Linked DNA regions of Homo sapiens: region 2 is linked to region 1. Evidence: promoter capture Hi-C in human tissues and cell types (Jung and others, 2019). All regions are on one chromosome and are shown on one strand. The core of a region is centred on a gene start or on the middle of the fragment in contact, and the rest is flanking DNA. Distances in the headings are between cores, read along the strand shown. Region 1 holds the start of OTUD7A (OTU deubiquitinase 7A). Region 2 overlaps OTUD7A (OTU deubiquitinase 7A).

Region 1 (4,621 bases), core at 1,417-3,916:
AAAAATCAACAAAACAAAGAAAAAGCTGAAAAGATGATTAAAATTAATAAACCTGTCCAGGTTAACCAAGAAAAAAAGACATTGGGCATAGTTTGCCAATATCAAAAAATGAAAGAGGCGTCATCTCTACTAATTTCATAGATGTTAAAAGAATAATAAAGGTTTATGATGAACAACTTTACACCCACAAGTTTGAATATTAGATAAAAAGGACCGATTCCTTGAATGATACAACTACATTTTACAGAAAAGCAAACAGATCACCTAATAGCTCTGTATCCACAAAGAATCAATAATTAATGAAGTCTCAAAAAAATCACCAGATTCAGATGGTTTCACCAGGGAATTTTACCAAACATTTATGGAAGAATTGATATAGGTTCTTTACAATTTCTTACAGAAAATACAAGTAAATATTACTTCTTAACTCATTTTATGAGGCCAGCATTACCGGCATACCAAAATAAATTAAAGACATTACAAAAAAGAAAACTATAGCCAAATATTTCTCATGAACATAGATGCAAAAGTCTTCAACAAAATATTAGCATATTGAATACAATGGTGTATAAAAACAATTATATACCATGCCCAAGTAGAATTTGACCCAAGTATGCAAGACCGGTTCCTTGAAAATCAATTGAAAATCAATGTAACCCATCATATCAACAAGCTAAAGAAAATAAAATCACATGACCGTATCAATAGATGCAGAAAACGAATTTGGCAAAATCCAACATTCATTCATGATAAAAACTCTGCAAACTAGGAATAGAGAGAACTTCCTAATCTTGATAAAGAAGAACTAAAAAAATCCTACTGCTAACATCATATTTAGTGGTAAGAAACTGGATACTTCCCCTAAATTCAGGACAGGACTGTTAAGAGAATGAAAAGACAAGCTTCCACTGGAAGAAAATACCTGCAAAACACGTATCAGATAAAGTACTTCTATCCAAAATACACAAAGAACTCTTAAAACTCAACCATAAGAAAACAACCTTTTTTTTTTAATGGGCAAAAGATGTGAACAAACATCTCACCAAAGAAGATATACAGGTGCATATGAAAAGTTGCTCCACATAATTTTTCAGTAGAAAATTGAAAATTAACAACGATATAGCACTATATGCCTACTAGAATGTCTAAAATTATAGATGATAGACGGATGGATGGATGGATGGACAGATAGATAGATAAAGATAGCCAATATCAAGTGCTGGTGAGGATGAAGGAAAGGGATTCATATTTGCTGACAGTTATAAAAATGCTATAGCCACTCTAGAAAACTGTTTGGTTCTTATAAAGTTAAACAAATTTACCATAAGATCTAGCAATTGCACTCCTAGATATTTAGTCAACTAATTTAAAAAATTTGTCCGTACAAAACGCTGCATGCAAATGTTTATAGAATGTTTATTCACAGTCGCCAAAAACTGGAAACCACGCAAATATTCTCCAGTGGGTGACTAAACAAAATGTGGTACAAATAATGAGACTCCCCTCAACAATAAAAAGGACTATTACTATACACAATAACATGGATGAATCTCCAAGGTATAATGATGAGGGAATAAAGTCAGTTTCAAAATGTTACATATTGCGTAATTCCATGTATACGACACACTCACAAAGACAAAACCGTAGCAATGGAGAACCTATCAGTGGTTACCAAAAGTTAGGGTTGGCGGGGGCGCTGTTATAAAAGGGCAGAACTAGGGAGCTCTTTATTGCGCTAGTGGTTACATGAATCCAAACAAGGGTTCAAGATCACAGGATTATATATCAAATAACCAATTTTACTGAATATCAATTTTAAAAGTCAAATAAATTATTAAACACTATTAAACATATACAATGTTTAAAGTCAAGCAAAAAGTCCTAAACTAAAAGTAAAATAATGATTGTTTAGAAGTACACCAGGATGGTATGGGTCATCTGCAATATAACGTCCTGTTTGGGATAAGGAAGCGTGACTACATCTACAGGGTGACGTGAGAAGGGCCCAGAGCAGCGAGCAGGTCTTGCCATCAGGGAGGGGAACCATCTGAAGGGGTGGCGTGAAAAAGTCTTTAGAGGAAGGCAAAAAATGGGAAAAGGTCAGAGAACCTTTTTGGGAGGTAAAAGGACCAGCTTTGGATTAGGCGTGATGCACAGGCCCCAGCGCAGGGCGTAGAAACTGCAGCCTGGACAGCCTGGGTGGGAGAAAGTTTGGGATGTTTAGGAAGGAAGGGTGCGCCAGCCAGGGGGAAGAAACGAGACAGGTGGCCGCAGATGGCGCGAGTCAGGCAGCAGGAAAAGGCAGGCTGTTTAAGCAGCCTTTTCCTGCAGTCCAGGCGGAGAGCGCAGAAGGAGCACCCCGAGGGGCAAGCATGGGAGAGCCGGAGCGGGCTCGCGGGCGCGCGGGCGCTGTACGTCCCCTCCTCGGCTCGCGGCCGCGAGCACGCGCTCTCCGTGCCCGGCCCCGGAGGGGCGGGGGCGGGGCACAGGCGCGGCGCGCGCACGTCCGCGCGGGGCGGGGGCGGGGCGCGAACGCGACCGGTGACGTCAGAGGAGGGCGCGCGCCCGGAGGCAGCAGGCGGAGCCGGGAGGCGGGCGTTGTGCGCGGCCGCGGGCGGAGCGGAGGGGCGCGAGGGGCGGAGCGGAGCGCGGGAGGAGGCGGGGGAGGAGAGGCCACCGGGACCGCGAGCGGCAGCTGGGGAGGGGGCCGCGGAGCCCGAGCGGGAGCAAAACAGCTGATCTGGTTTTCCTTTAAAGCGAGAGAAAATGGAAGTCGGGTAGCGGCGACTGCGGCGCTGCGGGCTGGCGGAGCGGAGCGGCGCGGCGCGGCAGGTAAGACGGCGCTGGCCGCGGTGCTGCCGGCGGGCGGCGGGGCCGGGCCCGCGGACCAGGCAGGTGCGCTCTCCGGGCGCGGGGCCGGCGCCGTCTCCTTCCCGAGCTCCGTGGCGAGGCAGGTGGGCGTTGAGGCCGGGCGACCGCGGGGCCGGGGCGCGGGGACGCGGGGGGCGCGGGCCCCGGCTGGGCTCGCCGGCGCGTCTGCATTGCGGGCTCCGCTCCGGACCCCGCGGGCTCCCGGGCCACCGGCTCCGGCCCGGCGTGGCGCGCCTCTCTCGGGCAGGGCGCGGCGCTACCGCTGGGTCGGGGCTGCTGCCTCCGCTCAGCCCTTTGGCTGTCCGCACTGGAACGTGATGCCAGGCGTGGGGCGACCGACCCCTCGGTCCGTGCGCGCGCGTCGGGGGTCCCGCGGCTCTTGCAGACGGCCGGGCAGGGCCCGGCCCCGAGCCGCGCGCGAGGCCGCTCGCCGGGCACCGGAGCTGTGACTGCGTGGGTCCCCGCGGCCCGGCGCACCGCCGTCCCGCTCGCTCTGCTGGGTCTCGCTGGACAGCAGGCAAACCATTAAGGCAATTTGGCTGTGAACCCAGAGGCCTTCCCTAGTATCTCCTCACTGGAGGGGAAAAAATTGCATCTGCGGTGCTTTAAGTGCTCCTTTAAATTTGGGAGATGTCAGTGATGTCATCATTAACTAAAACTTTCCTTCATTGGACACAACCGCTCAAGTGTACCCTCCTCCCTCCCGGTGAAGCTATTGCAGCCCTTTGAGAATCTCTGTAATAAAATGGATTTGCCTCTGCTCTGTAAACTCAGCTACCTCACACAAGTGCAAATGACTTTTATTTCTGTCTATTGGCTTGAGAATGTATAGATTTAAGAGTAGCTGAAGGGAAACTTGTGAGACCCCGATCAGGGAAACGCTTCATCCACAGCACAAGGATCCAGGGGAAAGTCATGTATGACATGCACATGGTTACCGCCAGGTGATACCTTTGTAAATGGAAGTGGGCTGTAAGAGGAACAATTTTTAAAAATATGATGAGGCAGATAATGTGTCCAGGAAAAGGTTGACAGCGGGGCCTAAATCTTTACAGGTCTTAATTGCTTCAGGAAAATCTGCAGGTGTCCTTCACCATCCTCCTCCTCCTCCTCCAGGGTGTGCCCGGAGAAGCCTGCCCTGGGCGAAGGCGGGGAGGCAGGTTCACTAGGGTCCTCCCAGCAGCCGTGTGTCCCACCAGCTTCAAAGGCCTCTTCAAGACCCAAAGAGGGTTCACGAGAACAGAGGTAGATCTGCACGGCACACTCAGTTCTGGATAAACATTCCCCACTAAATGGGATCAACACTCCATTATTTTATTGTGAGTGTGCCATTAGTACCAATTCTTATGGGAACAAAACTAAGCAAGTTCCCAAGGCAATCTGAGTATCTACTCAAGCCTATCATATCGAAAGGATATCCAATAAGGGACAAAAGTATTGACATTTTTGTATTTAATAATTAATGACACCTCCTAATTGGTTAAAATAAGCATGCCTTAAATTGTTAGTGTGATTTTATTGGATCTGTAAGGAATTTAATACCATATGCCACTCAAAAGTTGGGACCTGGTTAGGAACTTCAATCTCTTGAACCCTGTATTGGTGTGAAAAGAATGGGAAAACAGTGGTTACTTAGGCCTTTAGTGTTCAGGCTGATAATGGGTGGAAATCGCCGCTTTACGAAGTATTGCCACGTGCGGGTCTCACTTGGGCCTGGATCATAGATGGCAGGTTTTCCCTTAGAAAGTAA
Region 2 (4,845 bases), core at 2,095-4,594, 270 kb after region 1:
CGGCTTCATCCATGTCCCTGCAAAGGACATGAACTCATCCTTTTGTATGGCTGCATAGTATTCCATGATGTATATGTGCCACATTTTCTTTATCCAGTCTATCATTGGTGGACATTTGGGCTGGTTCCAAGTCTTTGCTATTGTGAATAGTGCCACAATAAACATATGTGTCCATGTGTCTTTATAGTAGAATGATTTATAATCCTTTGGGTATATACCCAGTAATGGGATTGCTGGGTCAAATGGTATTTCTAGTTATAGATCCTTGAGGAATCGCCACACTGTCTTCCACAATGGTTGAACTAATTTACACTCCCACCAACAGTGTAAAAGTATTCCTGTTTCTCCACATCCTCTCCAGCATCTGTTGTTTCCTGATTTTTTAATGATCGCCATTCTAACTGGTGTGAGATGGTATCTCATTGTGGTTTTGATTTGCATTTCTCTAATGAGCAGTGATGATGAGCTTTTTTTCATATGTCTGTTGGCCACATAAATGTCTTCTTTTGAGAAGTGTCTGTTCATATAATTTGCCCACTTTTTGGTGGGGTTGTTTGTTTTTTCTTGTAAATTTGTATAAGTTCTTTGTAGATTCTAGATATTAGCCCATTGTTAGATGGAAAGATTACAAAAATGTTCTCCCATTCTGTAGGTTGCCTGTTCACTCTAATGATAGTTTCTTTTGCTGTGCAGAAGCTGTTTAGTTTAATTAGATCCCATTTGTCAATTTTGGCTTTTGTTGCCATTACTTTTGGTGTTTTAGACCTGAAGTCTTTGCCCGTGCCTATGTCCTGAATGGTATTCCCTAGGTTTTCTTCTAGGATTTTTATGGTTTTAGGTCTTACGTTTAAGTCTTTAATTCATCTTGAGTTAATTTTTGTGTAAGGTGTAAGGAAGGGGTCCAGTTTCAGTTTTCTGCATATGGCTAGCCAGTTTTCCCAACACTATTTATTAAATAGGGAATCCTTTCCCCATTGCTTGTTTATGTCTGGTTTGTCAAAGATCAGATGGTTGTAGAAGTGTGGTGTTAACTTCTGAGGTTTCTGTTCTCTTCCATTGGTCTATATATCTGTTTTGGTACCAGTGCCATGCTGTTTTGGTTATTGTAGCCTTGTAGTACAGTTTGAAGTCAGGTAGCGTGATGCCCCCAGCTTTGTTCTTTTTGTTTAGGATTGTCTTGGCTATGTGGGCTCTTTTTTGGTTCCATATGAAGTTTAAAGTAGTTTTTTCCAATTCTGTGAAGAAAGTCAGTGGTAGCTTGATAGGGATAGCATTGAATCTATAAATTACTTTGGGCAGTATGGCCATTTTCATGATATTGTTTCTTCCTATCCATGAGCATGGAATGTTTTTCCATTTATTTGTGTCCTCTCTTATTACCTTGAGCAGTGGTTTGTACTTCTCCTTGAAGAGGTCCTTCACATCCCTTGTAAGTTGTGTTACTAGATATTTTATTCCCTTAGTAGCAATTGTGAATGGGAGTTCACTCATGATTTGGCTATTATTGGTGTATAGGAATGCTTGTGATTTTTGCACATTGATTTTGTATCCCGAGATTTCGCTGAAGTTACTTATCAGCTTAAGGAGATTTAGGGCTGAAATGGTGGGGTTTTCTAAATATACAATCATGTTATCTACAAACAGAGACAATTTGACTTCCTCTTTTCCTATTTGAATACCCTTTATTTCTTTCTCTTGCCTGATTACCCTGGCTAGAACTTCCAATACTATGTTGAATAGGAATGGTGAAGAGGGCATCCTTGTCTTGTGCTGGTTTTCAAAGGGAATGCTTCCAGTTTTTGCCCATTCAGTATGATGTTAGCTCTGGGTTTGTCATAAATAGCTCTTAATATTTTGAGATATGTTCCATTGATACCTAGTTTATTGAGAGTTTTTACCATGAAGGGGTGTTGAATTTTGTCGAAGGCCTTTTCTGCATCCATTGAGATAATCATGTGGTTTTTGTCATTGGTTCTGTTTATGTGATGCATTACATTTCTTGATTTGCGTATGTTGAACCAGCCTTGCATCCCAGGGATGAAGCCCACTTGATCATGGTGGATAAGCTTTTTGATGTGCTGCTGGATTCGGTTTGCCAGTATTTTATTGAGGATTTTTTCATTGATGTTCATCAGAGATATTGCCCTGAAATTTTCTTTTTTTGTTGTGTCTTTGCCAGGTTTTGGTATCAGGATGATGCTGGCCTCATAAAATGAGTTAGAGAGGACTCTCTCTTTTTCTATTGATTGGAATAGTTTCAGAAGGAATGGTACCAGCTCCTCTTTGTACCTTTGGTAGAATTCGGCTGTGAATCTATCTGTTCCTGGACTTTTTTTGGTTGGTAGGCTATTAATTACTGCCTCAATTTCAGAACTTGTTATTGGTCTATTCAGGGATTTGACTTCTTCCTGGCTTAGACTTGGGAGGGTGTATATGTCCAGGAATTTATCCGTTTCTTCTAGATTTTCTACTTTATTTGCATAGGAGTGTTTATAGTATTCTCTGGTAGTTTGTATTTCTGTGGGATCAGTGGTGATATCCCCTTTATCATTTTCCATTGTGTGTATTTGAGTCTTCTCTCTTTTCTTCTTTATTAGTCTGGCTAGCGGTCTATTTTGTTGATCTTTTCAAAAAACTAGCTCCTGGATTCATTGATTTTTTTTAAAGGGTTTTTTGTGTCTCTATCTCCTTCAGTTCTGCTCTGATCTTAGTTTTTTCTTGTCTTCTGCTAGCTTTTGAATTTGTTTGCTCTTACTTCTCTAGTTCTTTTAATTGTGATGTTAGGGTGTCGATTTTAGATCTTTCCTGCTTTCTCTTGTGGGCATTTAGTGCTATAAATTTCCCTCTACACACTGCATTAAATGTGTCCCAGAGATTCTGGTACGTTGCGTCTGTTCTCATTGGTTTCAAAGGACATCTTTATGTCTGCCTTCATTTCATTATTTACCCAGGAGTCATTCAGGAGCAGGTTGTTCAGTTTCCATGTTGTTGTGCAGTTTTGGGTGAGTTTCTTAATCCTGAGTTCTAATTTGATTGCACTGTAGTATGAGAGACTGTTTGTTATGATTTCCATTGTTTTGCATTTGCTGAGGAGTGTTTTACTTCCAATTATGTGGTCAGTTTTAGAAAAAGTGCGATGTGGTGCCGAGAAGAATGTATATTCTGTCGATTTGGGGTGGAGAGTTCTGTATGTGTCTATTAGGTCTGCTTGGTCCGGAGCTGAGTTCAAGTCCTGAATGTCCTTGTTAATTTTCTGTCTCAGTGATCTGTCTAATATTGGCAGTGGGTTGTTAAGGTCTCCCACTGTTATTGTGTGGGAGTCTGAGTCTCTTTGTAGGTCTCTAAGAACTTGCTTTGTGAATCTGAGTGCTCCTGTATTAGGTGCATATATATTTAGGATAGTTAGCTCTTCTTGTTGCCTTGATCACTTTACCACTATGTAATGCCCTTCTTTGTCTCTTTTGATCTTTGTTGGTTTAAAGTCTGTTTTATCAGAGACTAGGATTGCAACCCCTGCTTTTTTTTGCTTTCCATTTGTTGATAAATATTCCTCCATCCCTTTATTTTGAGTCTGTGTGTGTCTTTGCATGTGAGATGGGTCTTCTGAATACAGCACACTGATGGGTCTTGACTCTTTATCCAATTTGCCAGCCTGTGTCTTTTAATTAGGGCATTTAGCCCATTTACATTTAAAGTTCATATTGTTATGTGTGAATTTGATCCTGTCATTATGATGCTAGCTGGTTATTTTGCTCGTTGGTTGCTGCAGTTTCTTCATAGTGTTGATGGTCTTTACAATTTGGTATGTTTTTGCAGTGGCTGGTACCGGCTGTTCCTTTCCATGTTTAGTGCTTCCTTCAGGAGCTCTTGTAAGGCAGGCCTGGTGGTCACAAAATCTCTCAGCATTTGCCTGTCTGTAAAGGATTTTATTTCTCCTTCACTTATGAAGCTTAGTTGGGCTGGATATGAAATTCTGGGTTGTGTTGAGTAGGGTTTCTGCAGAAAGATCCACTGTTAGTCTGATGGGCTTCCCTTTGTGGGTAACCTGGCCTTTCTCTCTGGCTGCCCTTAACAGTTTTTCCTGCATTTCAACCTTGGTGAATCTGACGATTATGTATCTTGGGATTATGTGTCTTGGGGATGCTCTTCTCGAGGAGTATCTTTGTGGTGTTCTCTGTATTTCCTGAATTTGAATGTTGGCCTGCCTTGCTAGGTTGGGGAAGTTCTCCTAGATAATATCCTGAAGAGTGTTTTCCATCTTGGTTCCATTCTCCCCATCACTTTCAGGTATATCAGTCAAATGTAGATTTGGTCTTTTCACATAACCCCATATTTCTTGGAGGCTTTGTTCATTCCTTTTCATTCTTTTTTCTCTAATCCTGTCTTCTTGCTTTATTTCATTAATTTGATCTTCAATCTCTGATATCCTTTCTTCCGCTTGATCGACTCGGCTATTGATATTTGTGTATGCTTCACGAAGTTCTTGTGCTGTGTTTTTCAACTCCATCAGGTCATTTATGTTCTTCTCTAAACCAGTTATTCTAGTTAGCAATTCGTCTAACCTTTTTTCAAGGTTCTTAGCTTCCTTGCATTGGGTTAGAATATGTTCCTTTAGCTCAGAGGGGTTTGTTATTACCCACTTTCTGAAGCCTACCTCTGTCAATTTGCCAAACTCATTCTCTGTCCAGTTTTGTTCCCTTGCTGGCGAGGAGTTGTGATCCTTTGGAGGAGAAGAGGCGTTCTGGTTTTTGGAATTTTCAGCCTTTTTGCGCTGGTTTCTCCCCATCTTCATGGATTTATCTACCTTTGGTCTTTGATGTTGGTGACCTTTGGATGGGATCTCTG

Evidence for each region. The method cuts DNA at HindIII sites, captures the fragments that hold promoters and counts their contacts. A contact is called where the count stands out against the background at its distance.
Region 2: a fragment that was not itself captured here is called in contact with the fragment with the promoter of OTUD7A in region 1 in 5 of the 25 tissues and cell types used here (H1 embryonic stem cells, IMR-90 fibroblasts, dorsolateral prefrontal cortex and 2 more).

The regions. Positions count from the first base shown.
Region 1 is chr15:31,868,718-31,873,338 of GRCh38, reverse strand. OTUD7A (OTU deubiquitinase 7A) reads left to right here and starts at 2,666. Exons shown (of 13, transcript NM_001382637.1): 1 at 2,666-2,832. RefSeq lists a silencer at 2,634-2,703. The HindIII fragment of the contact is 13,679 bases long and covers 1-4,621 here.
Region 2 is chr15:31,599,467-31,604,311 of GRCh38, reverse strand. All of the region lies in intron 3 of OTUD7A (OTU deubiquitinase 7A), which reads left to right. Among named protein-coding and RNA genes, the nearest start is that of OTUD7A, 270 kb to the left of the region's middle. The HindIII fragment of the contact is 5,253 bases long and covers 718-4,845 here.